Linked DNA regions of Homo sapiens: all the other regions are linked to region 4. The links are contacts of gene promoters, found by promoter capture Hi-C in human tissues and cell types (Jung and others, 2019). All regions are on one chromosome and are shown on one strand. Each heading gives the region's core, a stretch centred on a gene start or on the middle of the fragment in contact. The rest is flanking DNA. Distances are from core to core; before and after follow the strand shown.

Evidence for each region. The method cuts DNA at HindIII sites, captures the fragments that hold promoters and counts their contacts. A contact is called where the count stands out against the background at its distance.
Region 1: a fragment that was not itself captured here is called in contact with the fragment with the promoter of LRP6 in region 4 in 1 of the 25 tissues and cell types used here (heart left ventricle).
Region 2: a fragment that was not itself captured here is called in contact with the fragment with the promoter of LRP6 in region 4 in 3 of the 25 tissues and cell types used here (aorta, hippocampus and mesenchymal stem cells).
Region 3: a fragment that was not itself captured here is called in contact with the fragment with the promoter of LRP6 in region 4 in 4 of the 25 tissues and cell types used here (dorsolateral prefrontal cortex, heart left ventricle, liver and 1 more).

The regions. Positions count from the first base shown.
Region 1 is chr12:11,528,951-11,531,650 of GRCh38, reverse strand. No RefSeq gene overlaps it. Among named protein-coding and RNA genes, the nearest start is that of LINC01252, 18 kb to the left of the region's middle. The HindIII fragment of the contact is 3,263 bases long and covers 1-2,700 here.
Region 2 is chr12:11,664,529-11,667,228 of GRCh38, reverse strand. All of the region lies in intron 1 of ETV6 (ETS variant transcription factor 6), which reads right to left. Among named protein-coding and RNA genes, the nearest start is that of ETV6, 16 kb to the right of the region's middle. RefSeq lists enhancers at 1-268, 269-902. The HindIII fragment of the contact is 4,639 bases long and covers 1-2,700 here.
Region 3 is chr12:11,575,005-11,577,704 of GRCh38, reverse strand. No RefSeq gene overlaps it. Among named protein-coding and RNA genes, the nearest start is that of LINC01252, 28 kb to the right of the region's middle. The HindIII fragment of the contact is 3,225 bases long and covers 1-2,700 here.
Region 4 is chr12:12,265,752-12,268,451 of GRCh38, reverse strand. It overlaps LRP6 (LDL receptor related protein 6), which reads left to right and starts at 1,408. Exons shown (of 23, transcript NM_002336.3): 1 at 1,408-1,771. The coding sequence starts at 1,717. RefSeq lists enhancers at 1,178-1,227, 765-1,401 and a silencer at 1,408-1,717. The HindIII fragment of the contact is 18,079 bases long and covers 1-2,700 here.

The DNA of each region.
Region 1 (2,700 bases), core at 96-2,595, 740 kb after region 4:
CAAACACATACAAAAGCTAGCAGAAGGCAAGAAATAGCTAAGATCAGAGCAGAACTGAAGGAGACAGAAACACAAAAAAACCCTTCAAAAAATCAATGAATCCAGGAGCTGGTTGTTTGAAAAGATCAACAGAACTGATAGACTGCTAGCAAGACTAATAAAGAAGAAAAGAGAGAAGAATCAAATAGACACAATAAAAAATGATAAAGGGGATATCACTACTGATCCCACAGAAATACAAACTACCATCAGAGAATACTATAAACACCTCTATGCAAATAAACTAGAAAATCTAGAAGAAATGGATAAATTCCTGGACACATACACCCTCCCAAGACTAAACCAGGAAGAAGTTGAATCCCTGACTAGACTAATAACAGGCTCTGAAATTGAGGCAATAATTAATAGCTTACCAACAGAAAAAAGTCCAGGACCAGATGGATTCACAGCCAAATTCTACCAGAGTTACAAGGAGGAGCTGGTACCATTCCTTCTGAAACTATTCCAATCAACAGAAAAAGAGGGAATCCTCCCTAACTCATGTTATGAGGCCAGCATCATCCTGATACCAAAGCCTGGCAGAGACACAACAAAGAAAGAGAATTTTAGACCAATATCCCTGATGAACATCGATGCAAAAATCCTCAATAAAATACTGGCAAACTGAATCCAGCAGCACATCAAAAAGCTTATCCACCATGATCAAGTGGGCTTCATCCCTGGGATGCAAGGCTGGTTCAATATACGCAAATCAATAAATGTAATCCAACATATAAAAAGAACCAAAGACAAAAACCACATGATTATCTCAATAGATGCAGAAAAGGCCTTTGACAAAATTCAACAGCTCTTCATGCTAAAAACTCTCAACAAATTAGGTATTGATGCGAAGTATCTCAAAATAATAAGAGCTACTTATGACAAACCCACAGCCAATATCATACTGAAGGGGCAAAAACTGGAAGCATTCCCTTTGAAAACTGGCACAAGACAGGGATGCCCTCTCTCACCGCTCCTATTCAACATAGTGTTGGAAGTTCTGGCCAGGGCAATCATACAGGAGAAAGAAGTAAAGGGTATTCAGTTAGGAAAAGAGGAAGTCAAATTGTCCCTGTTTGCAGATGACATGATTGTATATCTAGAAAACCCCATCTTCTCAGCCCAAAATCTCCTTAAGCTGATAAGCAACTTCAGCAAAGTCTCAGGATACAAAATCAATGTGCAAAAATCACAAGCATTCTTATACACCAATAACAGACAAACAGAAAGCCAAATCATGAGTGAACTCCCATTCACAATTGCTTCAAAGAGAATAAAATACCTAGGAATCCAACTTACAAGGGATGTGAAGGACCTCTTCAAGGAGAACTACAAACCACTGCTCAACGAAATAAGAGAGGACACAAGCAAATGGAAGAACATTCCATGCTCATGGATAAGAAGAATCAATATCGTGAAAATGGCCATACTTCCCAAGGCAATTTATAGATTCAATGCTATCCCCATCAAGCTACCAATGACTTTCTTCACAGAATTGGAAAAAACTACTTTAAGGAAAGAAAGAAAAGAAAGAGAGAGAGAGAAAGAAAGAGAAAGAGAAAGAAAGAAAGAAATAAAGAACAGCATAGAAAGCAGATATATGGGTACAAAGGGTAGGGCATCCTTTTTCTCATGAGGTTTATAAAAATATTTGAAGGTCAAAGCCAAAATTATAACATTATCTGATGCTCAAGACAGTAATATAAAAAATCATGGAAGGTAAAGGTTTCTTTTTTTTTTAATGTGCTTATTTATTTATTTACAGACATTCAATCAATTGGTATTTGCTATTTACTTGTCTTTTTATTATTATTATTATACTTTAAGTTTTAGGGTACATGTGCAAAACAGGCAGGTTTGTTACATATGTATACATGTGCCATGTTGGTGTGCTGCACCCATTAACTCGTCATTTAGCATTAGCTATATCTCCTAATGCTATCCCTCCCCCTTCTCCCCACCCCACAACAGTCCCCGGTGTGTGATGTTCCCCTCATGGAAGGTAAAGATTCCTACATTTCACTTAAAATAGCAAAACACTGATACCAGCAGACTGCAATAAGTCACATATGTATGCTTGAAATATCCAGTGCAATCAAAATAAAAATGGTACAAAGAAACACACTCAAAAAGATTATCAATAAACCAAAATGAAATGCTGAAGTTTACTCAAGTAACTCAAAGGAAGACAAGAAAAGAGAAACCAGAATGAAAACCCAAGGAAACAAGCAGAAAACAAATGACAAAATGGGAGGCTTAAGCTCGAACATATCGATGATTACCTTAAATGTAAATGCTCTAAATACACAAACACGAAGACAGAGATGGGAGGAGTAGGTTAAAGCACACACAGAGACACACACACACTCACACTTCAACTATATATTGAGTACAAGGAGCTCATTTCAGATTCAATAACCTAGGTAGGTTGAAAGTGAAAGGATGAAAAAAATTACCATGAAAAATTAATTTAAAGAAAGTAGTTAGGAGTGGCTATATTTTCCAATAAAATAGACTTCAGAGCAAAGAGACTTAGTACAGACAAAACCCAACATTTCATAGTGATGAAAAACTCAATCCAGCAGAAAGTCATAACAATTCTAAATGTGTATGCATCAAAAACAGTGCTTCAAAAATACAAAGCAAAAACTGATAGGGGTG
Region 2 (2,700 bases), core at 56-2,555, 600 kb after region 4:
TTAAAAAAATTCTGTTCAACTACTATCCATCGGCCTTCCTCTGTGCCAGGCACCGTGCTGGACACTGGAAATGTAAGCAGCACATTGTCTGAGGATGAGGTGTGTACGCTGAGTGTTTAAGAGGGAGCACAACTTCCGTGGCTGCCCCTACCTGAGCAGCTTCTTAAATGTGTATTTTCACATTCATATACAGACCTATGCTTTCTGCTCCCTAAGTGGTCCAGATCAGCACCCGTAACAACTCTCAACCTACTGCACAAGCCCTCGAGGAGCCCATGTGAGCAAAGCAAGAGGACCCTTAAATGCCCTGAGTGGACAGACAGGCCAAGAGAAGCCTCGTGGAGACTGACCCACCGGCAGCCAAGATGAAGTCAAATCTGGCAGGGCTGGCAGGCAGCTGCCGCGTAGGTCTGCAACAGAAAGCCCCCAGCAGGCGGTCAGGAAAACTTGTGACGGTTTCGGGGAAACTGTAAAAGGACTCTTGCTGGGGTCTGGTTGGGTTCAGGAAGCTAAAAGTTTTCACATATCCTAATGCCCTGAATCCCAGCTGTACCTCAATGGCAACAGAAATAGGGAGAAAACGAGCTATTCAGGCTTGTGTGGAAGGCCCAGTTTGGTCTGCTTATATCTGAAAGTAACCTGATTTCTCCCAAGTGGTCCATTTCCCACTTATCAGATCACACTTAATCAGATTCATAACCCTAACACACTCTCTTAAGACTGCCCTCTTTAAATAAATGTCACTGGGCTATCCACTGTAAACAGCAATATTGAGGCTGTCCTACCATCCGTAAGACATAACTTTGAGTTGTTTTTCTAGTCCCATAGTATGCCCAGTCATTCTCACTGGTTTAGTCCCTCCAGGCAACCCATTAGGAGTAAAATGAGAGCTCCAGAGAGATCTTCATCTCAGATAGGGTAGGAGAGAACATGGGCTGTACAAGAGAAGACTGGAAAGAGCTGACTCAAGTAAGAGAGGGATTCTTCCCTTGACATGGAAAGGCCAATCACAGACCTCAGAGAAGTTTCAGCAAGCCGTGCTGCTCTTCCGGGTTCTCTCTCCCTACTAGCTCTTAGAGGAATGGGGTGGGGGAGCAACTGGCAGCCCCATACGGTGGTGACCTGCCACTGGGTCCCAGATACCACAGCCAGCTATGGCCAAGACCGCACACAGCTACAACAAACAGCCACTGGTTCTCTCTCCCTGACCCAAGAGGCATCCTGAGCCACATCAAAAAAAAGGATGATCAGTTAATACATTCATTTATCTTGGGCTGTCTCTGCTGTTTCTGGCACATCCAGCCTGAAGGTTCTCAAGCTTCTTCTCCAGCTATCTATATTCCCCTCTAGAAAGTAGGCAACTGAGAAGGAGAGCATTTGTGAGTGCCCTGTGTGTACATGTCAGTACTTATGCCTCACAGGAGCCCCTTAGGTATGGGAGGTGGCAGTATGTTCGCCCTGACATGGAGTCCTGATATGTTTCAAAACACAGGTCTCTACCTTTCTTCTTTCCTCAACCCTCACAGAGTATTTGCTCAGGATGTCAACTGTGTGAGGTCTTTATCTTACATATCAAAGAGCCTGGCACCAATTAAGTCCGTAACAGAAGCTTAATAAATACCTACTGATTAAGAAATTCTATTCAATTAATAGCCATTGGCTGTCCTCTGTGCCAGACCTTGAGCTGGACACTGGAAATATAAAAATGAACCCATCAGACTCCTGTCCTCAGCAGGCTTTCAGTCTAGTGTGGATGATAATTCAAGGATAACTGGATTGTTGCCAATAACAGAAGCAAGTTCAATAAGCTGGGGGAACACTGTGCCCAGCAGCAACAGGGAGGCTTGAGAAATGGACTTCCAATGACAAATTGGCTGCCAGGCAGAAAGAAGATCGAGGGAAGATTCCAGGCATAAATGTTTGTTACATGGGATGGGCATAGTGGCTCATGCCTATAATCCCAGCACTTTGGGAGGCCGAGTTGGGCGGATCACTTGAGCCCAGGAGTTTGAGACCAGCCTGGTGAAACCCTGTCTCTACTAAAAATACAAAAATTAGCCTAGTGTGGTGGTACGTGCCTGTGGTGTCAGCTACTCGGGAGGCTGAGATGGGAGAATCACCTGAGCCCAGAAGGCAGTGGTTGCAGTGAGCTGAGATTACTCTAGCCTTGGCCACAGAGCGAGACCATGTCCTCCTGAGAAAAAAGTTCATTATGTGGTTGGAACATAATGTGGAGATGATACTAGAAAGGTAGGCAGTAAAGGGCCTTGCAGGTGACAAGAAGCTGTGGTTCATGCTACACTGTGGTACTGTGGTGTGAGACAGAGAGTAACAAGATCACATTTTTATCTGCAAAGAATCATTCCAAGTTGTGTTGGGGGTGGGGACAAAATGGAGGAAGGAAGATCAGAGAGGAGACAACTGAAAGGTCTGGGGCCAGAAGGAAGGCAGTGACAGCCGGTATGGAGGAGAAAGACGAGTATGCACCAGACTGCCTGGCAGGCTGGAAAAGATGGCACACCTGCCCTCCCAAAGCTTCCATTCCAGTAGCAGTAAGAAGCAACAAGGGGAAGAGTCTGTTAGTGCATCGTGGACCAAACAAGGGTCACCGTTCGCTAACCTTAGTCCTGGATGGCTTTTGTGGCAGTGCTGGCTTTAAGTTGGCCTTTGAAGAATGACAGAGAGGTGACTTGACAGAAC
Region 3 (2,700 bases), core at 51-2,550, 690 kb after region 4:
CCTCTGGGGGACTGGCTTTGGATATTTAAAGTCTGACTTTGGGGATTTAAATAACATGTTTCTCTAAGTCTCTGGCTCTAATAATGGAAAGCAATGACTTTTAAGACCTTTTTCTCTGCTATGGACTTTACAGAATTATTCTCAAGAGCTTCAGGTTAAAGATTTAATTGTTCTCTCTGTATCATCTTTGTATCTGTATTTCTAAAACCCTAACACTCCTTGAATGGTGGGGAAAGAAAAGATAAGTAAGAGGAATTAAGAAAAATCACATAGTTGAATATCAAAATATTAACCCACTATAGGAACAAAAATATTCATTGAACAATGAATTATGTGAGGTGATAAAGAAACTTTTATTAACAAGAATTTCATTGGTAGGAGGGACTTGACTAGATGAAAATCTTTTAATCACCTTGAAGTAAAAACTGAAATACTAGGGGCGTGTTACAACAAATTTGGTCTGCAAACAACTGCACCAAAGACAAAGGGAGGAATCTGTCCGGCAAAGGAGGATGGAGGTTAATGAGTAGAGGAGACTGAGGGAGAGAGAAAGCAAGAAAGATGGTGAGATGATGTGCACTGTGAAATGGAAATGTAGTCTATGACAAAGAAAAGTAAATTTCACTGTGAAAGAAAGGTAGGATTTGGAGTTTAGTAGGCAATCTAAGAAGGTAGGAACTGATATAGTTTGGATATTTGTCCCCACCCAAATCTCATATCAAATTGTAATCCCCAATGTTGGAGGTGGGACTGGTGGGAAGTGATAGGATTGTGGAGGTGGATTTCTCACGAATGGTGTAGCACCATCCCTCTTAGTACTGTCCTCACAATAGTGAGTGAGTGAGTTCTCATGAGATCAGATCATTTAAGTGTAAAACCTCCCATCTTACTCTCTCTTGCTCCTGCTCCTGCCATGTGAGACTCCTACTCCCTTTTGCCTTCCACTATGATTGGAAGCTTCCTGAGGCCTCCCCAGAACCAGAAGCTGCTATGCTTCCTGTACAGTCTGCAAACCCATGAGCCAATTAAACCTCTTTTCTTTATAAGTTGCCCTGTCTCAGGTATTTCTTTACAGTAATGTGGGAACAGACTAACACAGGGACATATAGGAGAAAATAGAACTAAGCAACATGGCATTAGTTTGGACATAATTACCTATCAGGCTATTACATTAGCTTGAATGATCCTCACAACAACACTAAGATTTAAGTACTATCATTATTATCCCCATTTTAAAATGTGGAAACAAAGACAAAGGGAAGTGAAGTAACTTAACCCAGTATCAGGGGAAACTCCTCCCTCATAGAGAATGGTGAAGAGTAACAAGAAGGCCAAGGAGATGACTAAGCCAGTAACCAGGTTGGCTTGCTGCCACTTTGGAGGTGTGAAAATAGACAAAGAGACTCAAGCAAGACAGCACAGCACACAGTGGGAACATCAGCATGGTAATTCTGGTTCTCCTGTCCCAAAGTCCCATGGGGTGGTAATGGGCAGCTACTCACACAGTGGGTTGTGCCACATGCGGGGAACCTAGGGTTAAAGGCTCAGCACCTCTTATAGCAAGCAGCAAAGGGGCTAGTCCCCTGCCCAAGGAATAAGCTGTAAGGTAATCATGATGTGGGTACCATGGCCAACTTAACTGTTACATGACTAGCTACAGAAACCTCTTTTAAGGCATCCTTAGAGATTGTCTGCCTTTTCTCATAAGGCAACTTCCATACAGACAGTAAACTGGAATACACTCTAAGGACCACCTTTCACTCTTTGCCTATATTTCATCTCATATTCTTCTACAACACATTGACAAAAAACATTAAAAATATAATAATTCCTAAACTGCATAGTTTGTGAGTCCCCTTTATATACATTATAACATTTAAGTTTTCTTTACAACAGTGGTTTTTATTTGGGGTTTGAGGGTAATTTTACCCCTCACTCCCTGGGGACATTTGGCAATGTCTGGAGACATTTTTGGTTGTCACACTAGAAGTTGGGGGAGTGGTACTGGCATCTAGTGGGCAGAGATCAGAGATGCTATGATGCACAGGGCAGCCCTACATAACAAAGAATTTTACAGCCCCAGATGTCAAGAGTGCTGATAATGAGATTGAGAAATCATGCTTCACAGTTTCCTCATATTATATAAGGAAAACTTAATGAAAACAGGCCCAGAATGGAGGGGAATCAACTAATGATGGAACAAAAGGTCTATCTAGCTATTGTAGTAGCAGTAGAGCATCACTAAGTATTTCAATACTTTGTCAATTATAAGAGAATGTAAGAATGAAGAGGATTTCATCTTTATGGCTGGAACAGTTGTTAGTTGATCTACTATTTGCATAGTTGAAGAGAACCAAGCACATAAAATCTTGTGAGTGGTATAGTTGATCAAAAGCAGACCTGCTCCCAGAAGTTATGACTCCAGACCATTGATGCTCACACCCAGGTAGAAAGGGTAGCATGTGAAGAAGACAGGGGCCTTATAGGTGGAGAGAAGCTTGCAGGTACATGATGTTTGCCACAGTTCACATTTGGCTGAGATAATGGGGATAAAAGTATGATTTTTCAAAGTGCTCTGTGGCCTTTTCCATCATTGCAAAGTAGTGGAGGCTTAGGGTTTTGTCCATAAGAGCAATTTAAAATTACTTCAAATTTCTGCAACTCTATAGTATTAACACATTTAAAGTAGATACAGAAATA
Region 4 (2,700 bases), core at 159-2,658:
AGAATACAAAACTCACTTGGTTCTTAGAAGCAGGTCATTTAAATAAACGGTGACTAGACCTCAGGTGAATTTGGGAGAAAGTGATTTGGCTGTTTCTGCTGTCCATCTACTTACAAACCTGCAGCACCTTTGGTTCAGCGCGCATTTCTTGGAAGGAGCGGAGTGGCTTAAGTCAGAGACCTGGATTGGGCTGAGGTACTGCTATTCATTACTTGAGTGGCCCTGGGTAAGTCATTAACCTCTCAGGTTCTCATTTTGCTCCTCTGTGCAATAAAGAATAAGTAACAAAACCTGCCTTTCCCCAGGGTAGTTTTGAGTGTCAAATATGATAACTTGTGTTCAAGCACTAGTGAACTCCAATGTCACTGAGGTACTTGTTAACATTGTGGTAGCAGCTCCACTTTCTTGCCCATCTGCCTCCAGGTAAGGGCGTGTGACAGCTGGGCAGGATGCATCTGATGGCTCCATTAGGGTTAACTGTTGGAGCGCCTCTGCCCAGACGAAAGCCTGGCAGGTGATTTCAGGGGGCGTCTGGGCCATTACTCCTGAATGCCCAATGCACTGGGAGTAGCAGAGGCTGTGCACAGTCTGAGATTCTAGGGAATCTTTTCCTTCTCAAGCTGAGAATTGATAATCGAAGCATGCCAAACATTCGTTATTATATGCAACTTGTAAAATCCTAAATAGTCTTGTCCAATTGTCCCTTTGCTCTTAGGTTTTGAGGCATTTATCTTGGAATTTTATCTGCCAGTTTAGAAATCTTTAGCTGGTCGGGCTTAATTCTGGGGGCAGTTTGTATTTCTGGGAAGGCGGGAGAAAAATGACAATCTCAGTTTTGAATTGGCGTTTTAATATCGTTCACCAGATCCACGCTGAAAGCCGGTGTAAACAGCGTTCAAAAATTCCGCCCTCCCAAAAAAAGGATGCTGAAACCGATTTCCAACCCCGAAGACGGAGCTCATCACCCCGCAACGGGATCCGCCGTGGCTCCCCGCGCGTGCACCGCGGCTGGGCAGTCTCAGGTGGCTGGGGGCGCGAGACCGGAGCCCCACCTGGCCCTGCCGGCGGCGGCCGCACAAAGAGCGGGGCAGACGGCTGCCCGGCCGAGCCGCAGAAAGTAGTCCCGACCACGCCGGCTCCAATGTTGTTCAACGCCGCCTCACGCCCTCCGCGGGGAGGGCCGAAGCGGCCGGTCCGGGAAAGAATCCCGCTGGAATGCGCCACCGGGAGGAGGCTTTCCCTCCCAGTTCGCCTCTGCTAGCCCAGAACCTCTCCCAGGGTCTCAGGCAGAGGCTGTGCGTGCGGTTGCCGACTCCCTTCCCTGGCCGTACAGGAGGCAGTACCGGGAGAAGGGGCTCGTTGCGCGCAGGGACACGGTCGCGGCGACCCTAGGAGGCGGTGCCGACCGTATCCCTGCGCCGCTGCGCGAGGCAGAGGCTGAATGAGGAGCTGCGCGGGGGAAGCGGGGCGCCGGGGGAGGAGGCGGCGGGATGGAAGCAGACGCTGGCGTCGCGCGAGCCCGGGGCCGAGCGGCGCGGTAGAGAGGGCGGCGGCGGCGCGCGCGGAACCTTGACGTGCCCCTTTCTTTCTTCTCTCGCTGGGAAGCTGGGAAGTATGAGCGTGCAGCCCTGCCGCTGCGGCGGCCGCCCCGGCTCCTCGCCTCCCCCACTTCTGGCCACCCCTCGCCGGTGAGAGAAGAGAACGCGAGAAGGGAAGATGGGGGCCGTCCTGAGGAGCCTCCTGGCCTGCAGCTTCTGTGTGCTCCTGAGAGGTGGGAAGAGTGGGGGCACTGGAAAGTTGGTGGGGTTCGGGGGGAGGTGGCCTTGTTGTATGTGTCTAGGGGGAGGGGAGGGACGGAGGAAGGGAGAAGGGGAGAGGAGCGGGGAGAGGCCTGGTCGTGGGGAGGGGGAGAGAAAGGGGCCCGGGAGCAGGGGCTGCGTGCACCGCCCGGCCACAATGCGGACCTGGCCTGGCTTCCCAGACCTTCCCCGGACACATCGGAGCTTCGATCCCGGCTGCTGGTCTTAGGGAACCCTTGGCACCCCATGCTGTCGGGATGACTGAGTGTCTGTGTGCCTCTCTCTGCCTGGGGTCTTCCAGGGAAAAGGGTCTTTGTACGTATTTTGGCTTTTAAAATGTTTGAGTCCGAGATGCTTTAAGGTTGGCCTTATCCATCGAAGCCCCGCCACCCACTCCCCACCCCGTTTCGGTGTTTCTTAGGTGAACTTTTAAAGCCCTCTTGCTATTTTTTCCAGGCCTTGTTACAGGTAATGATTGGCTTCCGTTTGGGATATAATGACCCTGGGTGAGAGCGCAGTTGGAAAGTGACTCCGGGGTTATAGGTCGAGCGTTTCAGCATTGGGAGCCTTCTGAGCTTCAGCCCATAATAAAATAAAACATTGCCCTTGTAACCTCTGGTATTCACGGCTTGCCCCTATTTTCGGAGTATGCAAGTGTACAGTTGGCACTAAGTAGGGAAATTCATCCTCGTGTGAAGAGGAGCCGGTCCTGGGACCAAAATGATAATTTGCTCTGCACCCCTGGGGACTGCTTGGCACTTTGGTAAATTGCATAGGCTGTTCGAGATAATTTGCTCTGGGAATCGCTTGAATTCGATGGCACTATGATGTTTTGAATTGGACTGCAAAGCTGACACATGCTCTGTGACTTTTGTGACAGTTCACAAAGATTTTTGACTGG